Regions from separate parts of the Homo sapiens genome. Here all the other regions are linked to region 1. Evidence: promoter capture Hi-C in 16 types of primary human blood cells and fetal thymus (Javierre and others, 2016). All regions are on one chromosome and are shown on one strand. Each heading gives the region's core, a stretch centred on a gene start or on the middle of the fragment in contact. The rest is flanking DNA. Distances are from core to core; before and after follow the strand shown.

Region 1 (3,837 bases), core at 956-3,455:
CACAGACTCTCAAAGAAGAGCCTCCTTGCCGGGATCCCCTGCGGGGACATCTCGAGTGCCCAGCTCCTCTGGGGCCCTTACCTTGTACTTGGCCGCAAGCAGCTCTGTGGCCTGCTGTTCCCGCCGCAGGTCCTCCAGCATCTTCTCCTTCTCCTCCAGCAGCTTCTGCTTCTCCTCGCTCACCAGGCTGCGGTCATCCTGGATGGCTGCCTTCTCCTCCTCCAGCCGCTCCTTCTGTTCCTGCAGGTAATTCTCCATGTTCTTCTCCAAGGCTGACTCCAGGATGGGCTGGGGCGGGCGGTGGTTGTTGTTGTTGTCATCCTCCTCTTCTGCCACCCAGGCCTCAATCACTGGGCCCTCAGGGTACCCAGGCGGGGCGGACACGGCCTTCTTCCTGCGGCTGCTCTTCCTCCGGGGCCGCTTCCCCAGCATCCCCCTCTTCTCCAGCTGGGCCTTCAGGCGGGCAATCTCCTCTTGGAATTCCCGCAGCAGTGTGTCCTTGGGGTCCTCGTTCACCCGGGGCTTGTTCTTGATGTTCTTGGCTCGGTTGGCAAAGCGCAAGGTGGAGAGGCTCTCATCGTAGCTGTGAGAAGCTGGCCCCAGTGTGGCTACCATGATGGTCTTGGCATTCCCCCCCAGGGAGTCCTGGAGCAGCCGGGTCAGCTTGGAGTCCCGGTAGGGAATGTGGGTGCTCCTGTTGCCCGCCAGGGCAGCAATCACGTTGCCCAGGGCAGATAATGAGAGGTTGATTTTGGAGGCTTCCTTAGGCCTCTCTCCACCAGCACCACCACCACTGCCTCCACCGCCACCACCGCCACCCGAGGATGGTGTGGCTGCCCCTCCCGCTGTGTTGGGGCCTGCCTTGTTCTGCCTCTCGCTGCCAGCCAGGTCCACGAGGTTGAGCTTGCCCACTCGGATGTGGTCCTGGCCATCAGAGCCACGTTCGCTGCACTCCACAGTGATGATGAAGATGGCATGGGAGCGGGAGCTGACCTCATTCATGTGGGTGCTGCCCACAGCCCGGGTCTGGTTCCCCAGGTTCATCACATGCTCAATCTCCTTGACATTCTTGGTGACGAAGGAGGAGAGGTCCTTGATGTAGACGCCAGTCTCGGGGTTCTCTTTCAGCTCTAGCCTCTTGCCCGGCTCCTTGGAGAGCAGGTCTCGAATCTCTTCCTGGTAGATCTCCAAATAGGAGGCCCGGACCAGGTACTGTTGGTTCTGGGAGCGGGAGATGTGGGTGAAGATGTGCTCAAAGGCATTCGGGATGACCCCGCGCAGCTCGGGCTCCACCCAGGTCCCCTGCATGGTATAGGTCTTGCCAGTGCCCGTCTGGCCATAGGCAAACACCGTGCCATTGAAACCCTGGAGCACGGAGTCTATCAGGGGCCTCACGGTTTCGTCATACAGGTCGGCCTGCTTGGAGCTGGCATCATACACGGCGTCAAAGGTGAAGGTCTTGGGCAGCTCCCCCGGGGCGGCGCGGGGGTTCCGCAGGGTCACCTGGCCCAGTTTCACGTCCATGGTCAGGATCTGCTCGTGACCAGCAGCCTCCTCCTTCCTGCTGAGGGGGCGGCACCGGGCCACCACCTTGAGGGCCTCGCTGGCCTTGGTCTTACTGGCCATCTTGCTGCTCTGACCTTCCTGCCCCCGAGCCCCTCCGCAGCCTGGGCGGTCCTGCTATCCTGCTCGCTAGGTCGGGATCAGCGGGGCCGGCCCAGCCCCCAGGCGCAGCTCTTCAATCCGCATGCAGCCTCCTAGGGTGGGGACGCTGGGAGGTGGCCCCAACGCTGCTGCAGTCCGGGCCTCCACCGCTCTCCGGTCCTCTCTGCACCGGCTGGGAGGTGAATTAGGCAGAATCCCCCAGTCGCCGCGGGAGCAGCGCCTGCCGAGCAGCCGTGCCCGGAGCCCGCCCCATGCAGGAGCAGAGGGAGCGCTGCCGTAAACAGCTTCGGCAACAATGAGATAAAGGAAGAGGAAAATGGGATGGGGGTGGGCGGCGAGCTGTCTTCTCCTCCTTCCTCTAGGGATCCATAGCGTGGGCTGCCGGTCGTGGGCGGCCGGGGGTCCCGGGCCTCCCGAGGGCAGAGGCTCACCTGGAGTCCTCCCCCCAAGCTGGGGGATCATTCATTGCAGCCAGCGCGGCTGCTGCTGCCTCTGCCTCCGCCTTCCCCGCCGCCGCCACTGGAGAATGAGAGAGAAAAACAGAAGGGGATGGGGCGGAGCAGCGGCAGCGAGAGTGATGTTGCCGCCGCGCTGCGGCCCCAGCTAAGCCTCCCGACTGGGGTGGGGCAGGGGGCGGGGCCGCGGGGCGGGAGGCGCGAGCCCGGAGCGGCCCGGGTGCGGGGGACAGGGGCGCATCGCCGTCTCTGCACCCCCGCCGACCGCTCCGGGATGACAGGCTCCGGTGCCGACCCAGGTCCTGCGCCCACCAGTCGGGTGCAGCGCAGCCACCGCCCGCCGTCACCCCACCGAGCCCGAGCATGCCGGGAATTGTAGTCCTGCCTTTGTTAACCGGGTTCTGGCAGGTTGCTAATGCCTTTCCCGGTCCCCCAGTCCGGGAGGCGCCTCCCTCATCCGCATGCCACCCCTTGAGTGACTGCTGAGCTTGCACCACCTATGCCTGGTCCCTCCGAGCCACCATCCTCGGACACCCCCCTGCTCCTGCCTTTCTGCCTGCAAATGGGTGCGCGTCACCCCTCCCCGTCAGGGTGTCGCCAGGCCTCCGGGAACCGAACTCCTAAATGTTCCTTGACTCTGTCCTTTCCTCCCCCTGTCCCGGTCTACTTCTGGCCTTCCTCTTCTCTCTGCTGGAGCCCACCTTCCAGCTGATTCTCTCGCACCTTATGTCCGCACAAGCACCCGGGAGCCCCCTCGCTCCTCCTCCACCGCCTTCCTTGTGTGAAAGCCTCTCCATCTTCCGCCTTCGCAGCCTCACCGCCACTACTCCTCTATAGAAAAATCTGTGTTCCAGACAGCCATTTCTTCAGTTATCCAGCGCCTGCTGAGCCCCAGGCCCCATTCTAGGATCTGGGTCCTTCCTGTCCTCAAGCAGTGCACATTCCCGGAACCGTGTTTTGTTTCTTTAACTGGCTTTGCTGTGCAGCATCTTTGTGCTTTTGCCCAGAGGCCTGGTCACCCTTCGGCACTTAGTGCCCTGCCACTTGGGCAGTTCAAGCACCTCCTCCTCCACGAAGCCTTCCCTTAGCAATTTTTTTTTTTCTATAGTGAAAGAGGCACAGAATTTACCTAAGACAAAACCTGGATTGAAGTTCCAGTTCTGATGGCCATCCAATGGAGTGGCTTTGAGCAGTCACTCCCCTTGCTCCAGCCTTAGTTTCCTCATTTATTTTTTTAAAAATTCGAGGCGGGAAAGAAATAATTAACAACTACTTCATGGAATGGTTGGGAGGCTCAAATGAAATAATGAATCATGAAGTACTGTACCATGAGAAGTCCTGCCCTGGCTTGGATTGCCTGACAGCTCCTGCTTCCTTGAGTATCCTGGATAGACCATGTCTGTGCTTGGTGTTCCTCTATGGGAGTCTTAATCTTTTTTTTTTTTCCTGTAGGATACAAATAAAGTGTAATTCCACAAGGCCAAGGACCAAGCCAGAGTCCTATCCATGGTCCACTCTGCAGAGGGCAGTTGAGTCTGTGGACTGAGCCCAAGCTGTCTGTCTTTACTCTCCATATGAGAACCAGATTGAGAGGTGCTGTTATCTGAAACCTGGAGACCCTTCTTCACAGAGGCACCAGAAGAGTCTTTCCACAAAACATTTCCAAGCATGTTATCCTCTAGAGGACCCAATTGTTTAGTTTTCCAACTCAACAAAA
Region 2 (3,771 bases), core at 78-2,577, 180 kb after region 1:
TCAAGACCAGCCTGGCCAACATAGTGACACCTCCCCCCACCATCTCTACTAAAAATGCAAAAATTAGTCAGGCTTGGTGGCGCGGGCCTGTAGTCCCAGCTACTTGGGAGACTGAGGCAGGAGAGTCGCTTGAACCCAGGAGGCAGAGGTTGCAGTGAGCCGAGATCATGCCACTGCCCTCCAGCCTGGGTGACAGAGCAAGACCCTGTCTCAAAAAAAAAAAAAAAAAAAGAGAAACAGTTAACAACCACCTGACCATCACCTGACAGGTCTCCCAACACGCCTGGTCTATGTGTTGGTGGGGAGCACTCTCCGGCGCTGCTCATACCTGACTAGCTACCTACTGTAACAATTTGACTTAATAAGATTCCACTGACTGGCCGGGTGCAGTGACTCCTGCCTATAATCCCAACTCTTGGGGAGGCCAAAGTGGGTGGATCACTTGAAGTCAGCAGTTCGAAACAAGTCTGGCCAACATGGTGAAACCCTGTCTCTACTAAAAATACAAAAATTAGCCGGGCGTGGTGGCACGAGTCTGTAATCCCAGCTACTTGGGAGGCTGAGGCAGGAGAATCGCTTGAACTTGGGAGGTGAAGGTTGCAGTGAGCCGAGATTGTGCCACTGCACTCCAGCCTGGGGGACAGAGCAAGACTTTGACTCAAAAAAAATAAAAATAAAAATAAAAATAAAAAATAAAAAAAAGAAAAAGAAGAAAAGATTCCACTGACAATACAAATAAATTGAAATCTGTAATTTGATTAAAAAGTAGAGATTCTCATGTCATGTAATAGTGATTTCACAGTGAGTTTTGAGTTTACACTGGGTTTACTAGTGAGGTCAGGACCATAACATGAAAGATAATCCAATTGACCATGAAGGCGTTCCCATCAGTTGTTCAGTCACTCTGTAGGTGACTGGGTGGGGGCTTTCCCACAACTTCTGGAAACTCCTTGGTGGGCGGATCACCTGAGGCCAGGGGTTCAAGACCAGCCTGGCCAACATGGTGAAACCCCATCTCTACTAAAAATAATTTTAAAGAAAGTGAGCCAGGCGTGGTGGTGCATGACTGTAATCCCAGCCACTCGGGAGGCTGAGGCAGGAGAATCGCTTGAACCCAGGAGGCGAAGGCTGCAGTGAGCTGAGATCGCGCCACTGCACTCCAGCCTAGGTGACAAAGCCAGTGAGACTGTCTCAAAAAAAAAAAAAGTACCAATTATGCTATGGTTTTGTGCTGGGAACAACTCTATTTCCCCAGGAACTAGGGGATCTCGCTCCTTTTCCTGTTCTGATTCCAGTGGAATGCCAGTGTGTCAACTCCTAGGATTTGCTGCCATCTTCAAGACATCAGGTCTTAAATCTGGAGAAGGAAGCTACACCACGCTTTTGGAGCCATGCATATTATCCAGGTCTATCTATTGCTCAGATTGGCAGAGGAGTGCTTTTGGTGTTTATCTTAAAGTAAGTTGTCACCCAACCCAAGGTCACCTAGATTTTCTCTTGTGTTATTCTCTAGGAGTGCTATTATTTTATATTTTACATTTAGGTCTATGATCCATTTTGAAATAATTCTTGTGAAGGATGTAAGGTCTGTGTCTAGATTAGTTTTTTTGTTATATGTATGTCCAATTGTTCTGGAACCATTTGTTGAAAAAGACTGTGCTTTTTCCATTGAATTGCCTCTCCTCCTTTGTCAGAGATCAGTTGACTATATTTGTGTGGATCTATTTCCGAGGTCTCTATTCTACTCCATTGATGTATTTGTCTTATTGCACAGATTGGAATTTCAGGGGAATTGTTGGACAATCTGTTTCAGGCGACAAAGGCAAAGCTGTTGGATCCCCAGCTAATTATTGACTTGGCTCACAGAAAAGATGTTGGATTATTTCAACCGGTTTTATTTTTTTGTTTTTTTTGTTTTTTTTTTTTTTGTGAGACAGTCTCGCTCTGTTGCCCAGGCTGGAGTGCAGTGGCGCGATCTCGGCTCATTGCAAGCTCCGCCTCCCGGGTTCACACCATTCTCCTACCTCAGCCTCCCAAGTAGCTGGAACTATAGGCGCCCGCCACCACGCCCAGCTAATTTTTTGTATTTTTAGTAGAGACGGGGTTTCACTGTGTTAGCCAGGATGGTCTCGATCTCCTGACCTTGGGATCCGCCTGCCTCGGCCTCCCAAAGTGCTGGGATTACAGGTGTGAGCCACCTCGCCCGGCCTATTTCTACAGTTTTACTCCATCATTTGCAGTCACTTAAGCCCAGATGACACCAAGTCCATCTGAGATGTTCAGGCAAGTGTGATTCTGAAATGGTGTGAAAGACCACTGACACAAAACCTCTCTTTTGGGAAACAGTTTGAATAATTTTTTTTTTTTTGAGACAGAGTCTCGCTCTGTTGCCCAGGCTGGAGTGCAGTGGCATGATCTCGGCCCACTGTAACCTCTGCTTCCTGGGTTCAAGCGATTCTCCTGCCTCAGCCTCCCGAGTAGCTGGGATTACAGGCACCCACCACCATGTCTGGCTAATTTTGCATTTTTAGTAGAGATGGGGTTTCGCCATGTTGGTCAGACCACCTCAGCCTCCCAAAGTGCTGGGATTACAGGCGTGAGCCACCATGCCCAACCCGAATAAAGTAATTTTTAAAGGATTCTGAAACTTGCCATGTTTTGAAAGTAAAGAACACCATTTAAAAAGCAAGAGATGGGCTGGGTGCAGTGGCACATGCCTGTAATCCCAGCACTTTGGGAGGCCAAGGCGGGTGGATCACTTGAGGTCAGGAGTTCGAGACCTGTCTGGCCAACATGGTGAAACCCCATCTCTACTAAATACAAACATTAGCTGGGCGTGGTGGTGCACGCCTGTAATCCCAGCTACCTGGGGGCTAAGGCATGAGAATTGCTTGAACCTGGGAGGCAAAGGTTGCAGTGAGCCAAGATCGCTCCAGCTGGGGCGACAGAGTAAGACTCTGTCTCAAAAAAATAAAATAAATAAATAAATAGGAAGAGATGAAAAGGATAATAAAGCTTCAGTTTAAAAATGTCTTAGAATGAAGCATGCATTTTTGTTCTTGCGCCCAGCTTCTTCTCGCCTGGCACCTTAGCTTCCTGGTATTGGAAGAAGGGACCGTCCTCTTCCTTGTCCCGGCCCCCTAAATCCTGCCATTGAAAGGGTTGAATGGTGGGGACTGGAGGTGTGCTCAGCAGCAGCAGGGGTCCCCAGATAATCGATGCCAGAAGTAGCAGTTGCTAGAGAAGCATTCTGCCCACTTCACTATGGCGGCACTTCCTCCAGACTCCTGGCAGCCACCCAGTGTTTACTTGGAGACCAGCATGGGAATAATTGTACCGGAGCTGTATCGGAAGCATGCTCCAAAGACCTGTAAGAACTGCTGAGATGACTCGTCGAGGTTACTACAGTGGCACAAAATTCCACAGAATCATCGAGGATTTCATGATCCAAAAAGGTGACCCAACAGGGACAGGTTGAGGTGGTGCATTTATCTATGGCAAACAGTTTGAAGATGAGCTGCATCCAGACTTGAAATTCACGGGGCCTGGAATTCTCGCAATGGCCAATGCAGGGCCAGACACCAATGGCAGCCAGTTCTTTGTGACCCTCGCACCCACCCAGTGGATCGACAGCAAACACACCATTTTTGGCCAAGTGTGCCAGGGGATAGGAATGGTGAATCGAGTAGGAATGGTAGAAACAAACTCCCAGGACCGCCCCGTGAACGCTGTGAAGATCATTAAGGCATACCCTTCTGGGTAGACTTGCTG
Region 3 (4,066 bases), core at 322-2,821, 210 kb after region 1:
CAGCACTTTGGGAGGCCGAGGCGGAGGATCATTTGAGGTCAGGAGTTTGAGACCAGCCTGGCCAACATGGTGAAACCCCATCTCTACTAAAAATACAAAAATTAGCTGGGCGAAGCAGGAGGATCGCTTGAACCCGGGAGGTGGAGACGAGATTATGCCACTGCACTCCAGCCTGGGCAACAGTGTGAGACTCTGTCTCAAAAAAAAACAAAAAACAAACAAAAAAGACCCTGACCTGAGAATTCTTGTCTCTGTTGGTCTATTATAAAGCTCTGGCCTCTTCTGAATTCCTGAATTTGTATGTCTAGCTAACCCTAGCAAATTAGTCTTTGTCAGAAGAGTGGGCAGAGAAGGAAAGAAGATCTTGTGACCCGGAGCTTGGGCATCTGTGTACATGGATGAGAAAGGCCACCTGGGTGAGTTTTAACATCCCCATATGCAGCACCGGGTCCTAGAACACCCAGGTTGTAATGCTGATTTTGCTGTTTTGCCAAGACAGAAAGTCACTTCTCTGTGGGCCTCAACTGTATACTGTGTATGGTGAGCTTATACATTCTCCTCACAGGTGGCCAGACAGCATGGTAAAGCCCGGATGCAGAGCTTGCTTCTGCACTATTGCAGATTTCATCTCTGGGGGATAAAAATGCTTGTCCATCTGGCATAACTTGGACCAGGTGATGCTAGAGCCCCAGAAGGGTAGAACTCTGCCTTTTGTCCATAATCTATAGTCCTAGCCCTTAGAAGGTTCACATGACATCTTTTTTTTTTTTTTTTTTTGAGAAGGGGCCTCGCCATGTTGCCCAGGCTGGCCTCACACTTCTGGGCTCAAGCGATCCTCCCACCTCAGCCTCCTAAGCAGCTAAGACCATAAGTGGTTGCTACCGCACCTGACTCATAAAATCATTTTTGAAATCGCCAGTGATAAGGGCTCTGTGTTTAGAAAACTTTCTTCCACGAGGGCTTCTGTAACTCTTTGGTCTCAGGAACTGCTTAGAACTTTGTAACTAATGGTGCTAGTTATGTTTCCTTGAGGCTACTCACCTAGGAAGCCCTTGGACACCATCTGTGTCAGCAGTTCTGGGTTTCCACCTCCAAACCGCTCCCCAAAGACTTTGCCCAGATCTTCCGCCACATGTTTCGCTACATCCACACCAACTTCATCCACCAGTGTGGCGGCACCCACAGGAAAGCCAAAGCTTGTGGTCAGGGAATCCAGCTTCTTCGGGTCAACTCCTTCCTGAACAGGAAGCGATGCAGGGACCTCAGGGGAAGGGCAGCCCAAATCCCCCCAAAGGGCTCCCTGTACTGGCTCCAAACACTGCCTTGTGTAAAACCCACTTCTGAGTGTCACCTGACCAGGCCCAGGACTGGTGCTATTTCATTCAGGGAAGCACAAAGAAGTTTGGGGCCACAAGTGGAAAGTCTGAGCCTTCTCTAATCTACAGCACTTTAAGGACGTTTAGAGATGACTAAATTCTTCATTTTCTTCTTGTTTGCATTTCTGAATCTCAATAATAAGGAGATTGCATGACAGACGGCTGAGTGTGTCATGACCAACAGAAGAAACATCATCAAAGAGGAGCACTCAGAGCCCTGTGATCCCCAAGTCTGGGTAAGTGCCCAGCGAGGAGGATCCCTCTCCTTTCCTGCCAGAATGACCTCGATGGCTACTGGAGAGGTCTGTGTGCTGTGGAAACAGATGCAGCACCAGTTGAACCAAGCGGGCCCTGTTCTGGATGGTCCCTGCCTCAGAGAGGTGCAGAAACAGCATAGAAGACATGCTGGGGGGTGGGGTGCCTTTAGCTTGCTGGAACAGTGAGGAGGCTGTGGGGCAGAGGGAAAGCTCTGCCCCTTTCAGTGCAGTATAAGCCCAACTTCCGACTGCTGTGCAGAGAGAGGGCACCAGGGACCTTCCTAGACAAGAGCAGGAGTTGGTGTATCAGAAGGAAGCTTGGTCCTTATCTTGACATCATGAGTTTTAGAGTGACTGAAGGAGTGGAAGATGCCGCAAACACTCTGGAGAGCAATACCAACCTGGAGGATTCGGATGACTTCAGACATCATGGGCGCAAGACACCTGGTAGTATAGAAGCCAGGTCCATCCTGCCAAGGAAGAGAACATGAGCTCCCTGGCCCTGCTGCTGGGACTGAGTCTGAAACACTCTACCTTTCCCAGGGTCACTTCAAAGTCATTTGAAAGTCACTGTAAAACTTAAGGTGACTTAAAATCTCAATCAGAATCCTTAAAAATGAAATTGCAGGGGAAGCCGTACTAGGGGTAGCCTGGCTTGAATCAAACAGTACAGCAGATAGTTTCATGGTCACCTTCAAGGTCTGGGATGGCTGGGAGAACCCTGCCACATCCTAGATACTCCCCACTCCCACCTTGACTCAGTGGGACAGTCAATACCACCGTCCATCCTGGAGACAACCCAGGGGAAAATCATATCAAAGTCTGGTCATTTGCCCCAGAATATTTATAAACAAGCCTGGAGGTAAAAGGAGTCTTATTAGAACTTTTCAAAAACTCTGCAGCTCTGTTATACAGCCCCTTACCTTAACCACAATGATGACCTTCCCCTGCTTGAGACCAACTGCTACAGCTGAAGCACTGGTGTCTTTGGAAGTTTTCTCGGTCGTGATAATCTCCAGCAGCTGCATCTTGTCCACGGGAGAGAAGTAGTGCATGCCAATCACCTGGCAAGGGGAACCAAAAGCCAACAGATCGGAGAATGCGGGTGAGGAACCTGAGAGCATTCCTTCTCTGCTAGGAAAACACTAGAAAGAAAGGTGGCTGTGATATAGGAATACTGCTTGACATAGCTGAGTGGTTTGGTTCCATGGGTCTTTGATAAAAGTTTAGTATGTTTAGGGAGAGCACATTGGAATCCTCCTCTTCCATTTGCTTCTAAGGTTTTTCACTACAGACATCTGATCCTCCCAACAATCAGTGCCAAAACCACAGCTCGAGGCCAAACTAGATTTATTGGGGAACGACGGATGAAGGTTCCACTTATATTAATGATACTGATGGTTTAGATAAGAGGATCCAGTTTTTTTGGGCGGGGGTGGGGCAGGCAGAAGAATTAATGTGTTGGGCTGTCAGAGAAGTATTTGCATTTTACACAGATGGGTCTCACCACCAGGATACTAGGTTTAACTAACACTCCTCAACAGTCAGATGCACTTAAGACTCATTAAACCAGCAGTTCTCCAAGTGTAGTACCCGGACCCAACAAGCACTGTCATCACCTGGGAGCGTTAGGCCTGCACATTCTCAGGCCTAGCCCAGCCCTACTGAATCAGAAACTCCATGGGTGGGGCCCAGATTTGTTTTAATAATCCCTCCTGGTGATTCTGATGCGTGCTAAGGTTTCAGAGAAACCCCTCATTGAGCTAACAGTTACATAGTCTTCCCAACAGAACTGTGGTGAAAGAAGTCTAATTCATTAATTTATAGTTTTGCTTTCTCCCTCTCACTTTAGCTATAAGGTACAACAAGTGATATCTGTAATTTTTGGCTGCTCATTATCTACCTGCTCTTCAATACATTTACCACTTATTCCTTACATTTAATCCATTACAACCCTATGAACTGGTCAGCCTAATTATCTAGATGAGGAAAAAAGGTATCAAGAGGTTAGTAGTACAGAGTCAGTCAGCATATGACGGGGTGGGATTCCATCACAGGTCTGTCTATCTCCAATGCCATTATGTAATACACAGATCAAGTAAATGTTATGTAAACTTATCAATCCAAAAGTTGTTTCTAACCCCTAAAGTGTTCTTTTACTTACATCTGAAATACTTAGGACCTGATTCAGACTCAGTACTCCTGAGCAAAAGGAATTAGCCTTTATTGATGTAGAATTTCTATATAATAAAATGCACAGATCTTGAAGTGTTCACATCAATGAGTTTTGACAACTGTATATACATCCATATAATCACTAACCCAAGCAAAATATATTTACATCACTCAGAAAGTTGTGCCAAAGATGACCAACTCATCCTGGATGGCTGGGGATTTCCCAATTTGTGGCACTGAGGGTCCTGTATCCCTTGC
Region 4 (4,043 bases), core at 453-2,952, 190 kb after region 1:
CTAGGACCCAGGACAGCTCTCAGAGGAGGGAGCAGAGTTGGAGGAGAGCTTCTTGGGCCCCCGGAGGTGAGGAGGTACAGGGGAAAGCTTAGACAACACCCCCAACACACACATAGTGGGGGCCAGGCCCTTCCTGTGCGTCTTGAACCGCCCGCCACCCTGCCACACACACACACACACATACACACACACGCCTACCCCACATGTACACATTTTATGGAGCCCCCAGCCATCAGAGTAAACCATTTCCCATTTGATTGGCAGAAATTTTGTAAGTTGTGCCTGAAGGAGAAAGGAAGGAGGTACTCCCTACCCCCACCCTCCCCACCAGCTGCAGCCCGGACACAGCCCCTTCTGCCTCCTGGAAGCTGGGCTGCCCCTCCTGCTCCCCTGGAAACCGTTGCTGGGGTTGGCGCCTCCAGGCCCAGACCCCTCCCAACTCCCAACACCTCTGCCCCAGAGCAGCTTCCCCCAGGCCCCAGGGCTGGGCCTCCCACTCCTGCCTTCTAAACCTGCTCTCTCAACCCCTCCAACCCTCAGCCGTCACCCCTGTAACTGGGAGGATGAGGGGGCGTGGGGAGGGGGTGTCAAGGAGCTGCTTCTCTGAGATGGGGTTGGGGGTTTCTGGGGACTCCCCCCTCTCCTTCGAGGTCCCCTTGACAAGGCAGTGGGTGGCTTCTCTGAGATGGGGTTGGGGGTTTCTGGGGACTCCCCCCCTCTCCTTCGAGGTCCCCTGAACAAGGCAGTGGGTGGAAAGGAAGGGCTGCCCTTGGGAGAGGCAGTAATCAGCTGCTCTAAGCCCTGTCATTCTCCTGACCTGAGCGACCCGTGGCTCTGGGGGAGCTCTCACAGCTGGGACCTTATAAGGGACAGTCCCGTCCGGGCCCTCTCCACTGCCCCAGTAGGGCCCTTCTTGCAGGGCCTAGGCCCTGACTGGGAAGCACAGCTCCAGCATCTCCTGCTCAATAAAGTCTCCCTTCGCCACCACACCCCCAGCTGGAGCCTACTGCTGCCCTCCGGGTCCCCAGACATACTCCAGTCAGTGCCTCAAACTTGCCTAGTCTCTGGTACATCTCTGCCCACCTCCCCAGGGGCCTAAGGGCTCCTGGAGGGCAGGGGCTGGTCTGGGCTCATCCATGGGGAGCTCCCCCTGCTCCAGCTCAGAGCCAGGGACAGCAGGCATTCCAGCCACTGATGAACGAGGGGCCCCGTCGGGAGTCACAGCCCTGAGAGGCTCACAGCCAGCCCCACAGCCCCAGGCCCCAGCTGGCAGCCCGCCTGTCCCTTGAGCTTTGCTGACCTGGACAGGGATTGTGTGGAGCTGTCCCTCAGGGGGGCGGTCTTGGTGAGGACGTCACTATCTGTTCTTTCTGCCCCTTCTAATGTCCTGTCTTCCTTCCCCTCATCCTCTGTCCTCCTCCCCCTTCCCAGGGGAGTACGCCGAGGGCGTCAGTGAGCGAGACATCCTGCTCATCCACTCCTGCCGGCAGTGGACAACGGTGACAGCTCATACCCTGGAGGAGGGCCACTATGTCATCGGGCCCAAGATCGACATCCCCCTGCAGTACCCAGGTGTGTCCAGCCAGGACAGATGTCATAAAGCCTGTAGGGGGGTGTAGGCAGGAGGGACTGGGGCCAGGGGTAGGGGGAACGCTGGGACTAGCGAGGCGGTGATTAGGGTTAGGGTTGGAGTCAGAGCCCAGCAGTTTTCATTCTGTTCTGTGGCACTCTGGGTTTCTGGAGAGGTGGCTCACAGGTTTTTTGATTCACATTTTATTTTAAAGTAGATTTGAAACTAATGATTAAAAAATACCCACACTCTTAAATTACTACACATCAGAGCTTAACCCTAATCAGAGGCCTTCAGGGTATACCTTCGGCTGCCACGCTTAGCCATCTTTGTGCAGACCCTCCAAGAGAACATGTCCTGCCAGGACCTTTTCTGTACCGCGCAACCAAATACCGCAGAAACCAGCGAATGCCCAAGCTGGTTACATGGCTGCACCTCTCCGCGCTGATCCTGTTTTTCCCAATTTTTGCGTTAAACCTATTGTTTCCATTGGTTGACTTTATAAGTGAATATTAAAAATTTTAGACTTCTAAAGATTATGCTAATGGACTACCTTTATTAGTTTTATACGTGACGTTGACATATAATAAGATTTTGTTTGAAGAAAGGATTCTGTTACCAAAACAGAGTACAGCCCCTTCCTTTTACAGATGATGAAACGGAAGGCTTGGGGGAGGAGGTGACTTGCCCCGTGTCACACATCTAGGAAAGGAAGAGCCTGGCCAGATCCAGGTATCTCAACTGAGGGCTGGTGTCTGCTGCACTACACCAGGAGCGTGTGGTTGCTGTCCCCTGTGTGGGAGGGATGGGAGTCTGGTGGCCCCATCCCAGAGACGTCCCCGTGTGAGCCCCGGATCCCACATCTGCCATGTGTTAAGCATGTGCTGCATGCCATATGCTGGGCCGAACATTTTTGCCATTTCATCCTCATGGCAACCTGATGAGAAAGTCTTGTCAACTCCATTTAACTCACCAGGAAACTGAGGCTCCAGGAGTTTCAGTGGCTTGCCCAGTGCCATGTTTTTTATTTCATTTTTTGTGTTTTTAGAGATGGTCTCCTTATGTTGCCCAGGATGGTCTCAAACTCCTGGTCTCAATGAAGCCTCCTGCCTCAGTCTCCCAGAGTGCTGGGATTATAGGTGTGAGTCACTGGGCCAGGCCCAGTTCTGTGTGTGTGTGTGTGTTTTCTGTTGCTCAGGCTGGAGAGGAGAGGCGCCATCTTGGCTCACTGCCTCCGAGGTTCAAGGGATTCTCCTGCCTCGGCCTACCAAGTAGCTGGGATTACAGGTGCCTGCCACCACTCTCTGCTAATTTTTGTATTTTTAGTAGAGACAGGGTTTCACCATGTTGGCCAGGCTGGTCTCAAACTCCTGACCTCAAGTGATCCGGCCGCCTTGGCCTCCCAAAGTGCTGGAATTACAGGTGTCAGCCACCAAACCCAGCCCAGTTCTGTGTTTTTAACTGCTGTGCCCAGCTGCTCCTGACAACCCCCTCACCAAGGCTGGGAAGGTCCCATTGCTTCTTCACAGGTACCCCTGCCTCCTCTGGCCCTGGGTCTCCCTGAGCCAGGAGGACAGGACTGAGCCCTTTACAGAGGCTTCTGTCTTTTACAGCCTGTGAAGTTGGTACCTGTGTACTCCACCCCCCAAACCCTTAAAAGATGTGGAAACTCACTCAGATTTCTTTCTGACCTGGGGTTCTATCTTGGGCTTGGAGCCCACTGGGGGCCTGCTCAAGCTAGAAATTTCCAAGCTTGGTTCAGGGGGAGGTCCCAGGTCTTCTTGGGATAAAAAAAGCAAAAGTTGCCTGAGCAGTGGCTCTTATATGTAATCCTAGTGCTTTGCTGAGACAGGAGGCTCCTTTGAGGCCAGGAGTTCCAGGCCAGCCTGGGCAACATAGCGAGAACAAACAAAAACAAAAACAAACAACCCCCCCCCCCAACAACAAATAAATTAGCTAGGCGTGGTGGCGCAGGCCTGTAGTCTGGCTACTGGGGATACTGAAGCCAGGTGGGGGGGATCCCTTTAGTCCAGGAGGTTGAGCCTACAGTGAGTTATGATGGTACCCCTGCATTCCAGCCTGGGAGACAGAGCAAGATGGTGTTTCTAAAATAAATAAAAATTAAAAAGAAAAGAGAAAAAGAAAGGTTGGGAAAATCCCTCACTGAAAAAAACGTGACTTTAGGGACTTCATTTTGGTTGTGTCATTAAAACTCTGGGAACCCAAGGCACAGTCTCCCAGGGAACCGTGGGTCCGGGGGCTCCTAGCTCTTCCTCCCATCTCTCTGGCGCCCCTGCGTGCCTGTGTACGGTGGTGGTCTTGGAGGGGTGGTGGTCTTGGGGGGCGCGGCCCCAGCCCCATCTTTTCGCGGGGCTGCTTCTGTCCGCCCGCACGGGGGAGGGGAGGAGGAGGCGGAGGCGGAGGCAGAGGCCCCTAGGAGGGCGAAGGCCGGCGGGTTAACGAGGAGGCGCTG

Evidence for each region. Contacts are between HindIII fragments. The CHiCAGO score rates a contact against its expected background, and 5 or more counts as called.
Region 2: a fragment that was not itself captured here is called in contact with the fragment with the promoter of KIF3C in region 1 in 6 of 17 cell types (erythroblasts, M2 macrophages, megakaryocytes and 3 more); the score reaches 6.5 in erythroblasts.
Region 3: a fragment that was not itself captured here is called in contact with the fragment with the promoter of KIF3C in region 1 in 1 of 17 cell types (M2 macrophages); the score reaches 5.2 in M2 macrophages.
Region 4: a contact is called between a fragment that was not itself captured here and the fragment with the promoter of KIF3C in region 1, in 2 of 17 cell types (M2 macrophages and neutrophils). The highest score is 6.4, in M2 macrophages.

What each region holds. Positions count from the first base shown.
Region 1 is chr2:25,980,292-25,984,128 of GRCh38, forward strand. It overlaps KIF3C (kinesin family member 3C), which reads right to left and starts at 2,206. Exons shown (of 8, transcript NM_002254.8): 1 at 82-2,206. The coding sequence starts at 1,626. RefSeq lists enhancers at 1-467, 977-1,485, 1,486-1,995 and silencers at 1,985-2,144, 2,285-2,454. The HindIII fragment of the contact is 7,922 bases long and covers 1-3,837 here.
Region 2 is chr2:26,158,792-26,162,562 of GRCh38, forward strand. It overlaps the pseudogene PPIL1P1. Among named protein-coding and RNA genes, the nearest start is that of GAREM2, 12 kb to the right of the region's middle. The HindIII fragment of the contact is 3,371 bases long and covers 1-3,013 here.
Region 3 is chr2:26,192,536-26,196,601 of GRCh38, forward strand. It overlaps HADHA (hydroxyacyl-CoA dehydrogenase trifunctional multienzyme complex subunit alpha), which reads right to left. Exons shown (of 20, transcript NM_000182.5): 15 at 2,557-2,697; 16 at 2,035-2,103; 17 at 1,042-1,237. It also overlaps a transcript of GAREM2 not described here. Among named protein-coding and RNA genes, the nearest start is that of GAREM2, 21 kb to the left of the region's middle. The HindIII fragment of the contact is 754 bases long and covers 1,195-1,948 here.
Region 4 is chr2:26,174,913-26,178,955 of GRCh38, forward strand. GAREM2 (GRB2 associated regulator of MAPK1 subtype 2) reads left to right here. Exons shown (of 6, transcript NM_001168241.2): 2 at 1,432-1,572. Among named protein-coding and RNA genes, the nearest start is that of GAREM2, 3.8 kb to the left of the region's middle. RefSeq lists enhancers at 638-1,176, 3,498-4,043. The HindIII fragment of the contact is 3,235 bases long and covers 86-3,320 here.